Linked DNA regions of Homo sapiens: region 2 is linked to region 1. The links are contacts of gene promoters, found by promoter capture Hi-C in blood cells and fetal thymus (Javierre and others, 2016). All regions are on one chromosome and are shown on one strand. Each heading gives the region's core, a stretch centred on a gene start or on the middle of the fragment in contact. The rest is flanking DNA. Distances are from core to core; before and after follow the strand shown. Region 1 holds the start of DEFA4 (defensin alpha 4). Region 2 overlaps MCPH1 (microcephalin 1).

Region 1 (5,195 bases), core at 2,696-5,195:
TTCCAACCCAAGGCTCTTGGTAGAGAAAGGTGCTCTCTTTCTGTGACATTTGCTCTATTACCTCTTGTGAACCACCAGATATCACTGATGCAGATCAGGGCTCCCACTTCAGGGTGGTGCTGGGCAACTCAGCATGGGGGTTAGGGGACCCTCACTTAGCCACTGGCCTCCTCAAGCAACACAGTGGCCTCCTAAAGTCATGCTTATTAAAGTTGTGGCATGAGCACAGACTAAGTCAAATTAGGAAAGGCTCCAGTCCCCCTACAAGTGGTTCATCAAGGGAACCAAGCTCCTTTGAGAGCCTTAACTATCTTAATTCTCAACACCATGGCCACCAGCTCTTCTACAATTGGACCAGACCAACCATGGCACCCACCCTGGTGATCACAGAAGAGTTGAGCTCTTTTTCCCTTATGGATACCATCACCCACATTTTCTGCAATAATGAGACCCCCTCATACCATCACAAGATGTCCACTGTCTCAGCATCAAACATTTACTAAAGACTCGATCGAGGATGGACAGTGATAGGGTTTGGCTGTGTTCCCACCCAAATGTCATCTTGAATTCCTATGTGTTGGAGGGACCTGGTGGGAGGTAATTGAATCATGGAGGCAGGTCTTTCCCATGCTGTTCTCATGGTAGTGAATAAGTTTCACAAGATCTGATGGTTTTATATAGGGAGTTTCCCTGCAGAAGCTCTCTCTTTGCCTGCTGCCACCCACGTAAGACTTGACTTGCTCCTTTTGTCTTCTACCATGATTGTGAGGCCTCCCCAGCCATGTGGAACTGTGAGTCCATGAAATCTCTTTCCTGCATAAATCACCCAGTCTCGGGTAGGTCTTTATGAGCAGCATGAAAATGGACTAATACAGATAGTGAGCTGTGATCCTCTGGGGACTGATGGTCCAGGCAGCTGCCACAGAGCAGCCCTAAGATGCTTCTGCTACACCAGACCTCACCTCTTGACATACAGCCTCCAGCAGAAGCTCCAGTTCTTCCTGCTTTGAAAGGTAGCTAATATCTCCCACTCACTCCTCCCTGAAGGAAGTGGGGATTGTTTCTCTGCAGCCCAAAGAGGGTACAGTCTGGGTCACTAAATGAGGAGAAAAAGCCATCAAACTAGAGGACGCCAACTACATCAGACAAAGACCACATGGAACTACCATCACCATGTCCTGTGTCGATTGCAGAAAAATGCTCTGAAGAAATGTTGGTGAAAGCCCACCCCATAATCAATATCGACGTAAAAGTACCTTGAGGAAATCCCTGAGTTATAAGCTGTCAGTGCTCTCTATCTTTGGCCTTGCTGGGTATCTTATGTATGTAAATGTTGTACGGCTGCTCTTAGGCCTGGGGCCTGGCATCCCAGAGAGCTGCTGGAACAGGACAGCCACTGTGAGAAATTGAACCCCAGGCTGGAAAACTGTGGCATGTTGAGGCAATGTGCTAGAGGGGCAAAACCCCAAATGCCACCTGACCTGGATCCAAGCCAGGAAACCCGATCCTTAGATATTGAATGGGACCCATGGCACTAAAGCTTAAACACCAGCAACCCCCACAATCAGAGGCAGGTGGCCCTCCCCATGACCAGGCATGAATACAAACCAGCTAATGATGCCTCAGCACAAACTCAGTCTGTGGCCGGAAAGGTTGGAGCCTCACATGCAGAGAAAGCATTCAAACACGTTCATGGGCTTAGGGATACTTCTGTGCTCCAAAGTATGTGAGTTGTGGATGGAAATGTCCTATCCCCCGACCAAGGAAAGCACCACTCAAGCTTTCACTAAACGCTTCCATGGAGTCCCACAGAGGCCAGAGGCCTGTGCAACACCAGCCCATACCCTCTCTCTTCTTGAGTGACCAGCTGGAAAGGCCACCCCTACCCGAAAGGCCATCACCTCAGAAGACAGTGCTCTGATCCAAGGGTTTGTCCTGGGAAACAGTGGCCTCACCAGAACCAGAGACACCAAGGAATCTCATCTTGACTGTGGGGTCATCCCCAAACCAGACTCACCTTACTCTCCTTCCTGCCGCAAGGTATGGATCTCACCACCCCCGGGACATGGAGTTGGCTCACGTCCAGTACCTGGACCCGTGCTTTCTTAGCTCATGCTTTCCTGAGGACCCTGCAGATGACCCCTTAGAATGGTATTTTGCTGGGATCCCCATTTGTCTTCAGTGTAACCCATTAGTTAAACCGCCTACTGCAAGGAAACCACAAGGCTTGGATCAGATCAGGAGGCTGCCCTACAAGTTATGCCAAAAAATATGGACTTGGAAGACCTGTCTGTTATAATATCACACCCAAATCTAACCAGCTCTGCCAATAACAGCTCTCTCCTATGTTACTAGGAAAATGCCTATGGATTGGAGTGTGTTCTGTGTGCAGGAGGCTGGTCCAGGTTTCACTTCTGCAGGACACTGGACATCCCCACAACCACCAGACCTTCCCCACGTGCACACACACCCCTTCTCATTTTGCCTCTACATCCATATCCACTGGGCCCTTCAGGCACCTACTAATGCCCTAGAACCTAAAACCATCATCTGGGGCCCAGTTCCCCAAATAGCCCTAATTTCTTCCTCTGCTGGAATGAGTCCAGTGCCCACTTCCTCCAAAGGTGAAATTGCTGGGCCTGCAACAGATCAGGAACTCACTGCTTCCTCATAGGGGCAGCCGACTTCACTGCTCTGGAACAGCGACCACCCCTAGCGAGGCTTGAGATGCCTCTTCCCTCCTTAAGACTGAGAGCGCCGCTGCCCCCAGTCCTCCATAGCCCAGTGCCTGCTGCCTTCACGCAGAGCTGCAGGGGAGGCCCTGAGCACCCAGCCTGCTGGACCAGCGCTGTGCACGGCCCTCCCATGGCGGCAGGGGCTGCCTGGACTGCATACTGGGTTCAGCAACCTCACTATAGGTATTCATTCCCTCAGGAACAACTGCATTCTTTTCTCATTTCCAGAAACCTCATCCCGTTTACCTCACTACAAGGAGGAGGATGGTGGAGAGTGGTACATTTTAAAATGTGCACTAGTCTCCCTGGGACTCCCCTTCAAATAACCCAGGAGGGACCACACAAGGGAAAGCTTATGCATCCCCCCCACCCAGTGACCATCTTCCTAACTCTGGGTGTAGGGAGACTCGTAAGCCTACGGGATTGGTTTGGGAACAGGGTATTTGAGCTCACAACACAAGGTGATGCAAGCTAACACCAATCTCGCTGCAGCTTTGGCCACCATCCTAAGGGACTTCTGACAGACATTAGGTGTCACGCAATCATTTGATGAGTCCTTGGCCTGGATGACCTAGACAGTCATTTAGGCTTGAACTATCTAAGGCCAAGCAAAAAGGTGACTGTCCCCTCTAGGGAACCACATGCTATATGCACATCCTTTACTCGGGAGCCTGCAACCTGCCCTATCCAGCAACACAAGCCCAGGCGGTATTCAGTCTCATCCAGGTATTCTCCAACCTTACTTGTCTGAATGGCTTGGATTTGTTTTTATGGTTAGACCCCAGGGCCTGGGGAGGTCAGTTCAGACCACATTCCAAATCCTCATCTGTGTGTGGGTGGCATTTTGATCCTAGTCTCCTCGCAAGGTGTATACAACAATATGCAGGCCAGGCTCTCCTGGTGGCTTTAAATATTCCCTCGGTCCAGGTAGTTCAGCCTCAGCCACCAGCATAGGTATCATGGGGTCAATTGTCTTAGGAGTCATGAGGAATCCATAGTTGATTGCTGCCTGGGCCTGGCCAGGGCTGACCAAAGTAGACGAGGGGTCGGTACCTCCGTGGACTCCTGCTTGAACTCCAGCTTTCTGCCAAATTTCTCAACTGCCCTTGTTAACAGTTATTTAAAGTACCCAATAGAAAGTAACCCTGAAAAATTAGGACACCTGATACCAAAAGACCCTTAAATAAGGAAGTCCTCTCCTCTGTGTGCATGGCTGCTCTTGCTACATAAGACCTGGAACACAGGACTGCTGTCTGCCCTCTCTGCTCGCCCTGCCTAGCTTGAGGATCTGTAAGTAACACAAAACTTAAACTTTCACATTGAGGTTTCAATATTGAAGCTGTGTCCCCAGTCTGACCTCTCACTGTGGGGCCACCCCAGAGGGACCCAGCGGGTGAAGCCCCTGCTGTGAACTTCTATCTGGGTGTCTGGCGGCTGCTGGGGGTAATGGCTACTAGCTAAGTCAATAGAGAAACTCAAAAAGTTTCCTTCCAAACACACGTGTCCTACTTGACATGTCCAATAAAGACGATCACAGCTTCTTAAAACATTATTTTATTGTGAGAGAAGCCTCTGCAGGTCCTAGGTCTGTTTTTCAATCAGGTTGTTTGTTTTTTGCTATTGAGTTGTTTGACTTCCTTATGTATTCAGATATTTACCCCTTCTACCACGTAGGCTTTGCAAACATTTTCTCTCATTTTCTGGGTTGCCGTTTCCCTCAGTTGATTGTTTCCTTTGCTATGAAGATGCTTTAGCGTTCAATGCAGCCCCGCTTGTCTATTTTCCCATTTGTTTATTGCCTGTGCCTTTGGTGTCATAGCCAAGAAATCATTACTCACGTCAATGTCCAAAGCTTTATCTTTGTATGTGCTTCTCGTAGTTGTATGGTTTCAGGTCTTTTCAAGTCTATGTTGAGTCTTCAATCCATGTTGAGCTGATTTTTTACATGCTGTGAGAGAAAGGACCACGTGTATGCACCTAGCAACTCATGAACCTTACACAACTCTTTATCTCTCTCACTGAGCTCATTTCACCTGTACCCTGATAAGGTCATTGTCCTCTTCACTCTGGCCCCTACAGGAGACTACTCACCCCATTACCTCAGTCGCCCCTTCATGAGGGTATAATGACCTAGAAGCCTGCAATGAGTTACTCTCTACTCCACCGGAATACAGGTCTGGCACCAGTGTTTAGACCTGAAGAGAATAGTAGGGCCCATTATCAGGAAATAAGAGGCATTTGCTCTCTTAAATTATTGAATGAAAGCACTGTTTCCATTCTTTTTAGAATATTAAAGATTTAACCAGGAAATATTAGGTATTTCCTGAAAACAGGAAAAAATGCCAGGGTCCTCATCATCACCATCAACTTCAACCTAGCACAGACACTAAACATAGAGCTTCCTGTGAAGAAAGCTGGGAGAGCAGAGGAGCATTCCAGGGATGTCAAGGCCAATAGGAG
Region 2 (5,497 bases), core at 66-2,565, 510 kb after region 1:
CAACGTTCTCCTCGGGAAGCCGTGCTGTGATGAGCTTATTCTCCCCAGAGAGCCGATTCACTCCAGCACTTCCCACAGTACACCTGCTAGGTCGGCCAGGAACCACCGACTCTCATTCTACCCTTAGGACGATGCCTTCACCTGGGCCAATCCTGCATTCTTTATGCTACTCTTGTGCCAAACTGCCCAGCACCAGTATCTTATTCTCTAGGCCCAGTCAGTAAGTCAATTCAGGAAAAGTACATTAATCTTTTTTGTAAACGGCACTGTGTTAGTGAGGTAAAAAAGTGAATGGCATCTCCTTGAAGATTCCAGCCGCGAAGCACGCTATCCTTCACGTGTGTCCCTGACACACAAGGAAGAACACAGGAGACTCAGAGAAGTCTGCACAACAGTGCTCTGCCAGCAGAGAGCGAACTTCTGTGGTCTAGCACTAAATAACCGTAGGAAGTTAACTCAGGAGCTACTGGAGGAACCTAGAGCCCAGCAGTTGAGTAATTTGCCCAGTCCTAAATGGCTACACATCCACTGTTACACATTGATGTGATATTAGGAGGACACATCAGACCGTTCCAAACTGAGGGACGTTCCTATCACTGGTCAGTGACCTTAAACAGTGTCAAAGTCACAAAAGCCAGTGAAAGACTAAGGAATGGCTGCAGGGTGAGAAGGCTGAGGAGGCGGGAAGTGGAGCTGGCTGCTGGTAGGATAGGAATGGAGTCTGAGGATTCCGGGAGGAAAGGAGCCGTGGTAAGCCCCTAATGTCGGCCTGTGTTGTGGTTATGCAGGAATATGTCCCTGTTTCCAGCAAACACTAAATGCAGGGGGTGATGGCCTTCGGTCAGCAACCAACTCTCAGCCTAGCAAGGACAAAGCCTGTGAACCGTATTCCCCACCTAGCTGTTAGTTTGCAGTTGTTTAAAAATGATAAATTGTCTTCAACAGAACTTAGAGTGGGGGCCAAGCTGACCTTTATTTCAACTTTATGTATTCTTTCTTCAAGGTAAAAATTTCTACATCCAAAGGAAATGTCAGAATTTTATCAATTGCCATCTGATCTTAAAATGAACACTCCCAGAAGGAACCCAACAGAATGGGATTCTAGTGACACCTAGTGACCTTATGAAGTTAATGTTCACATTTTCAGTGGAAACCATGAGCTACTGCATTGGAAAGGCAGGCAGTTCACCAAGAAAGGACAGACGTGACATAAAAAATGCAGGTCAGTTTGGCTCTTATCTCTATGCTCTGCTGAAGAAAATTCAAGCTCACTAAAAGTCAGAGAAATGCAAATAAAAACTATTATTTTTCTTCTACAAATTAGAAAGAAGAACTGATAACTCACAACATTAGCAAAGGTATTGGGAAACATGCATTTTTTTGATAATTCCAGTGAGAATGGAAACCAGTACACTCCTTCCAGAAGATAATTTGGCAGCATCTATCATATTTAAATATGTAAACTCTCAGAAATGAACAGCCCACTTTGGGGATTTAAACCTATGGAAAGATTTATCACCCGCAAAAAGGTAATACATACAGAAGCTCAATGCTGTAATATTTCTAATTGAAAAAAATAACTAAGAAATGAAAAACTTCAATCACCAATAGGACACTGCTTACATAAATTACTGGACAGCTACTACAAAATATTCTTATATATATAAAGTGGGATGCATCTGCATGTACAGGCAAAAAAATGACCTGTAATAAAAAGTTGACTAAAGTGTATGGGCCGGGCGCAGGGGCTCATGCCAGTAATCCCAGCACTTTGGGAGGCCGAGGCGGGCGGATCACAAGATCAGGAGATGGAGACCATCCTGGCTAACACGGTGAAACCCCGTCTCTACTAAAAATACAAAAAAATTAGCCAGGCGTGGTGGCGGGCGCCTGTAGTCCCAGCTACTCAGGAGGCTGAGGCAGGAGAATGCAGTGAGCCAAGATTGCACCACTGCACTCCAGCCTGGGCGACAGAGCGAGACTCAGTTTCAAAAAAAAAAAAAAAAAGAAAAGAAAAGAAAAATGCCAAAAGATTAAGTTCACTTTTGAGCTTCTGAGGACCTTAAAAGTGTGCTTTTGCCAGGCACGGTGGCTCTTACCTGTAATCCTAGCACTTTGGGAGGCCAAGGTGGGCGGATCACCTGAGGTCAGGAGTTAAACCAGCCTGGCCAACATGGTGAAACCCTGTCTCTCCTAAAAATATAAAAATTGGCCGGGCACAGTGGCTCACGCCTGTAATCCTAGCACTTTGGGAGACCGAGGAGGGCGGATCACAAGGTCAGGAGATCGAGACCATCCTGGCTAACACAGTGAAACCCCGTCTCTACTAAAACCACAAAAAATTAGCCGGGCGTGGTGGCGGGCTCCGGTAGTCCCAGCTACTCGGGAGGCTGAGGCAGGAGAATGGCATGAACCCAGGAGGCGGAGGTTGCAGTAAGCCGAGATCGCACCACTGCACTCCAGCTTGGGCAAGAGAGTGAGACTCAGTCTCCAGAAAAGAAAAAGAAAACTTTGCTTTTGGATAACGAAGTTACAAGTATTATGGGGTCTGCATGAGCCCCTTGAGAAAGGCTGGGGTTAGTGGTGGGCAGAAATAGAGAGAGAGAGAAAGGGGATAGAGAATGAGTCAGGGGCTGGGCCAGCAAAGCAGAGTAAGAATCCCTAACTCTCAGCAGAACACACTACCAGTGACCATCCCCATTGTAGGGTTAGCTGAGAGGCCCTATTAGGTACAGAAATGGCTACTATTTTAATTTTGTCCATGCATCTCCATTTACTTCAAGCTTCTAGTAAAGGTCTCTGTTTCTGCACTCTCCCCTCCACATTTCTATACGACTTTTAAAATGTAGTTTTTTTTCAAATCATTTTCCCCCATGATATTTTCTCTAGTATCTCTACGCCACTTAACTAAATTTTCCTTTGTTCATAATTTGTTAGAACAAATATTTACTGAGCATCTACTATGAGCCAGATGAATGTTAGACTTACTAGAAACACAACCATAAATAAGACAGACAGGTAGCTGCTCTTGGAATCCACATTACAATAGAAAGACAAAATGCATGATTAGATACACAGACAGATAAAGCAGTCAAATGAACAAAATAAGTTTTAATAGTACACACAGGAAAAAAGGAGCTGAGACAGAGAATAACAAATAGGGCTTGAACTGTGAACTGGGGACAGAGGAAGCTCTTCTGATAAAGCGACCTTGCAATGCAACATGTATAAAGGAGCTGACTACAAAACTGGGTTTAGAATCAGGAAGACGGGGCAGAGTTCTCAGCACAGGCCAAGAACTAAAGGCAGAAAGAGTGTAGCCTTGGGGACGTGGAAGCCCAGAGCATTTGGAAGACGCAAACAAGGGAGAGGGGAGCAGCTGACAATGGAAGGGAAGGGGACCATCATGCAGCACACTGGACCTGGGTCAGCAAACTTCTGTAAAGGGGAAAGTAGTGAATGCCTTAGGCTTCGTGGGCCGTAAGGTCTCTGCCACAGGATCCAAATCTACAGCTGTAGTACAGAGGCAGCCACTGACTACATCGTCAGATGAACATGCCTGTGTTCCAATAAAACGGTATTTATGGATACTAAAATTGAATTTCATATAATGTAAATATCATGAAATAGTAAACATTTGAATTTTTTTTTTCTCTTAACCATTCTTACCTCATGGGCCATTAAAAAAAAATAAACAGTATGGCAGGGTGGATTTGGCTGGGGGATGATAGTTGGCCATTCTCTGCTATAGACCACTGAACTCTAAGCCATTTTGTCAGAAGGATAAAGCTGATCCATGTGTTGAAGTATTACAGGTAGTTAGGCATAAGCCCGGCAGGAGAGGCCTCTACCACCCACTAGGAATGTTGGGTGATAGCTCAACAATTATCACATTGCCTCTCTAAAAGTGATAAATTGGCAGCCAGAGCCAGGGAGAGGCCATTTCCTGACAGTCCACACCTGTTGTGCTAAAGTGTTAACTGAATGCAGACGCCAGGGAGAGGCCATTTCCCGGGCATGCACATTAAGAGACAAAATGGCGGAGAAACGGGAAGAAAGCTTCAGATGGGCACCCACACAACTTCCTAAACAAGCTGCCTGTGCTCAATTCCCGCACTGTGCATGCGGGCAGCCCACCCTAAGGGAAGAACTGCGGAAAAGGGCGAGCCTACAAATCCCAGGATCAAGGTTAAACATCAAATTAGACCTCCATGCCCGCCTGGGACTCTTCCCAGTGTACTTTCCTTTCTTTCTGTTCTGACGCCTTTTAAATAAACTTCTGCTCCTGCTCTGACCCTTGCGTCAGTCTCTTCTTTTGCCTTATGCTCCTCCGTGGAATTCTTTCTTTTGAGGAAGCAAGAACTGAAGTTGCTGCAAACCCATACGTGTTTGCTGCCGGTAACTTGGATACCTTCCACTGGTAACAAAAGGGGTTACATTTGCTTATGTATAAGAAACAAAATGAAACAGACAGGCATGAGGCTGCTACAGTAACTGAAGCAAGACATGATACTTGTCTCGACTGTAACAGCAGAGATAAAGATCTATGAGAGATCGATTTTGAGATAAAAATCAATAAGCCATTTCAATGGACTCCATAAGAAGATGAGGTAGAGAAAACAATGATGGCTGGCTGATACTGAGTCTTACCCCATTCCCTCCCCGAAAAAAAAGCAGAAAATAAAAAAGAAACTTAAATAAAAGACACATATGACCTACATTCTCACTGACACGGAGATAACAGCGCAAATTCAGATGACCTATAAGTAGAAAAATAATCAAATTCCAACACAGCTGCAAGTCTATGGATGCAGAAAGTCGGGGAGAATACGCTTAAGACTCCATAAAAAGTAGTACAGCCTGGAGAACTTACATGAAGCACAGGTAAAAGAAGTCTCAGAAAGAGGACACCCAGCACAACTGCCACAACAGAGAACCCACACAGCTCACAGCACCCACTCCAGGGAAGGGGTCTGAATGGGAGCAAGACTAGGACAGGCAGGCTCTGAAAAACATCAGTTCTGGGGGGAGTGGCAGCCCTTGAACCAATGGCAGTGAAAAAAAGAAGAAACTAAGAGAAAAACATTTAAGGATCCTATAGAAACAAAACGCAAACGAGATACACGAGCCCCTCCCTCCTCCCTCCCTCACCAGCATCACCTATAAAAGAAACTATGCAAGACAGCAGAACTGACAGAAGAGGACGCTCTGGCCACAAGCCTGGCCTATGCAATGAATGGAAATAGAATAGACTACATCCATTTTAAAAATCTATTTTAAAAAAACAAAGAAAAAGCAAATCATTTCAGCTGAGGAAAACCCATCACACTCCCTAAAATAAAAGCAAACACAAAACTGAAGAATATAACAAAACCCTTGAACTTGAATCAAATATTATCAGCTGGGTGCAGTGGCTCACACCAGTAATCCCAGCACTTTGAGAGGCTGGAGTGAGTGGATCACTTGAGCCCAGCCTGGCCTACATAGTAAGATCCCA

What was found. The method cuts DNA at HindIII sites, captures the fragments that hold promoters and counts their contacts. A CHiCAGO score of 5 or more calls a contact.
Region 2: a contact is called between a fragment that was not itself captured here and the fragment with the promoter of DEFA4 in region 1, in 1 of 17 cell types (fetal thymus). The highest score is 5.4, in fetal thymus.

The regions. Positions count from the first base shown.
Region 1 is chr8:6,937,056-6,942,250 of GRCh38, reverse strand. DEFA4 (defensin alpha 4) reads left to right here and starts at 3,945. Exons shown (of 3, transcript NM_001925.3): 1 at 3,945-4,025. RefSeq lists a silencer at 4,140-4,209. The HindIII fragment of the contact is 1,500 bases long and covers 3,090-4,589 here.
Region 2 is chr8:6,419,701-6,425,197 of GRCh38, reverse strand. All of the region lies in intron 3 of MCPH1 (microcephalin 1), which reads right to left. Among named protein-coding and RNA genes, the nearest start is that of MCPH1, 16 kb to the right of the region's middle. The HindIII fragment of the contact is 2,940 bases long and covers 1-2,785 here.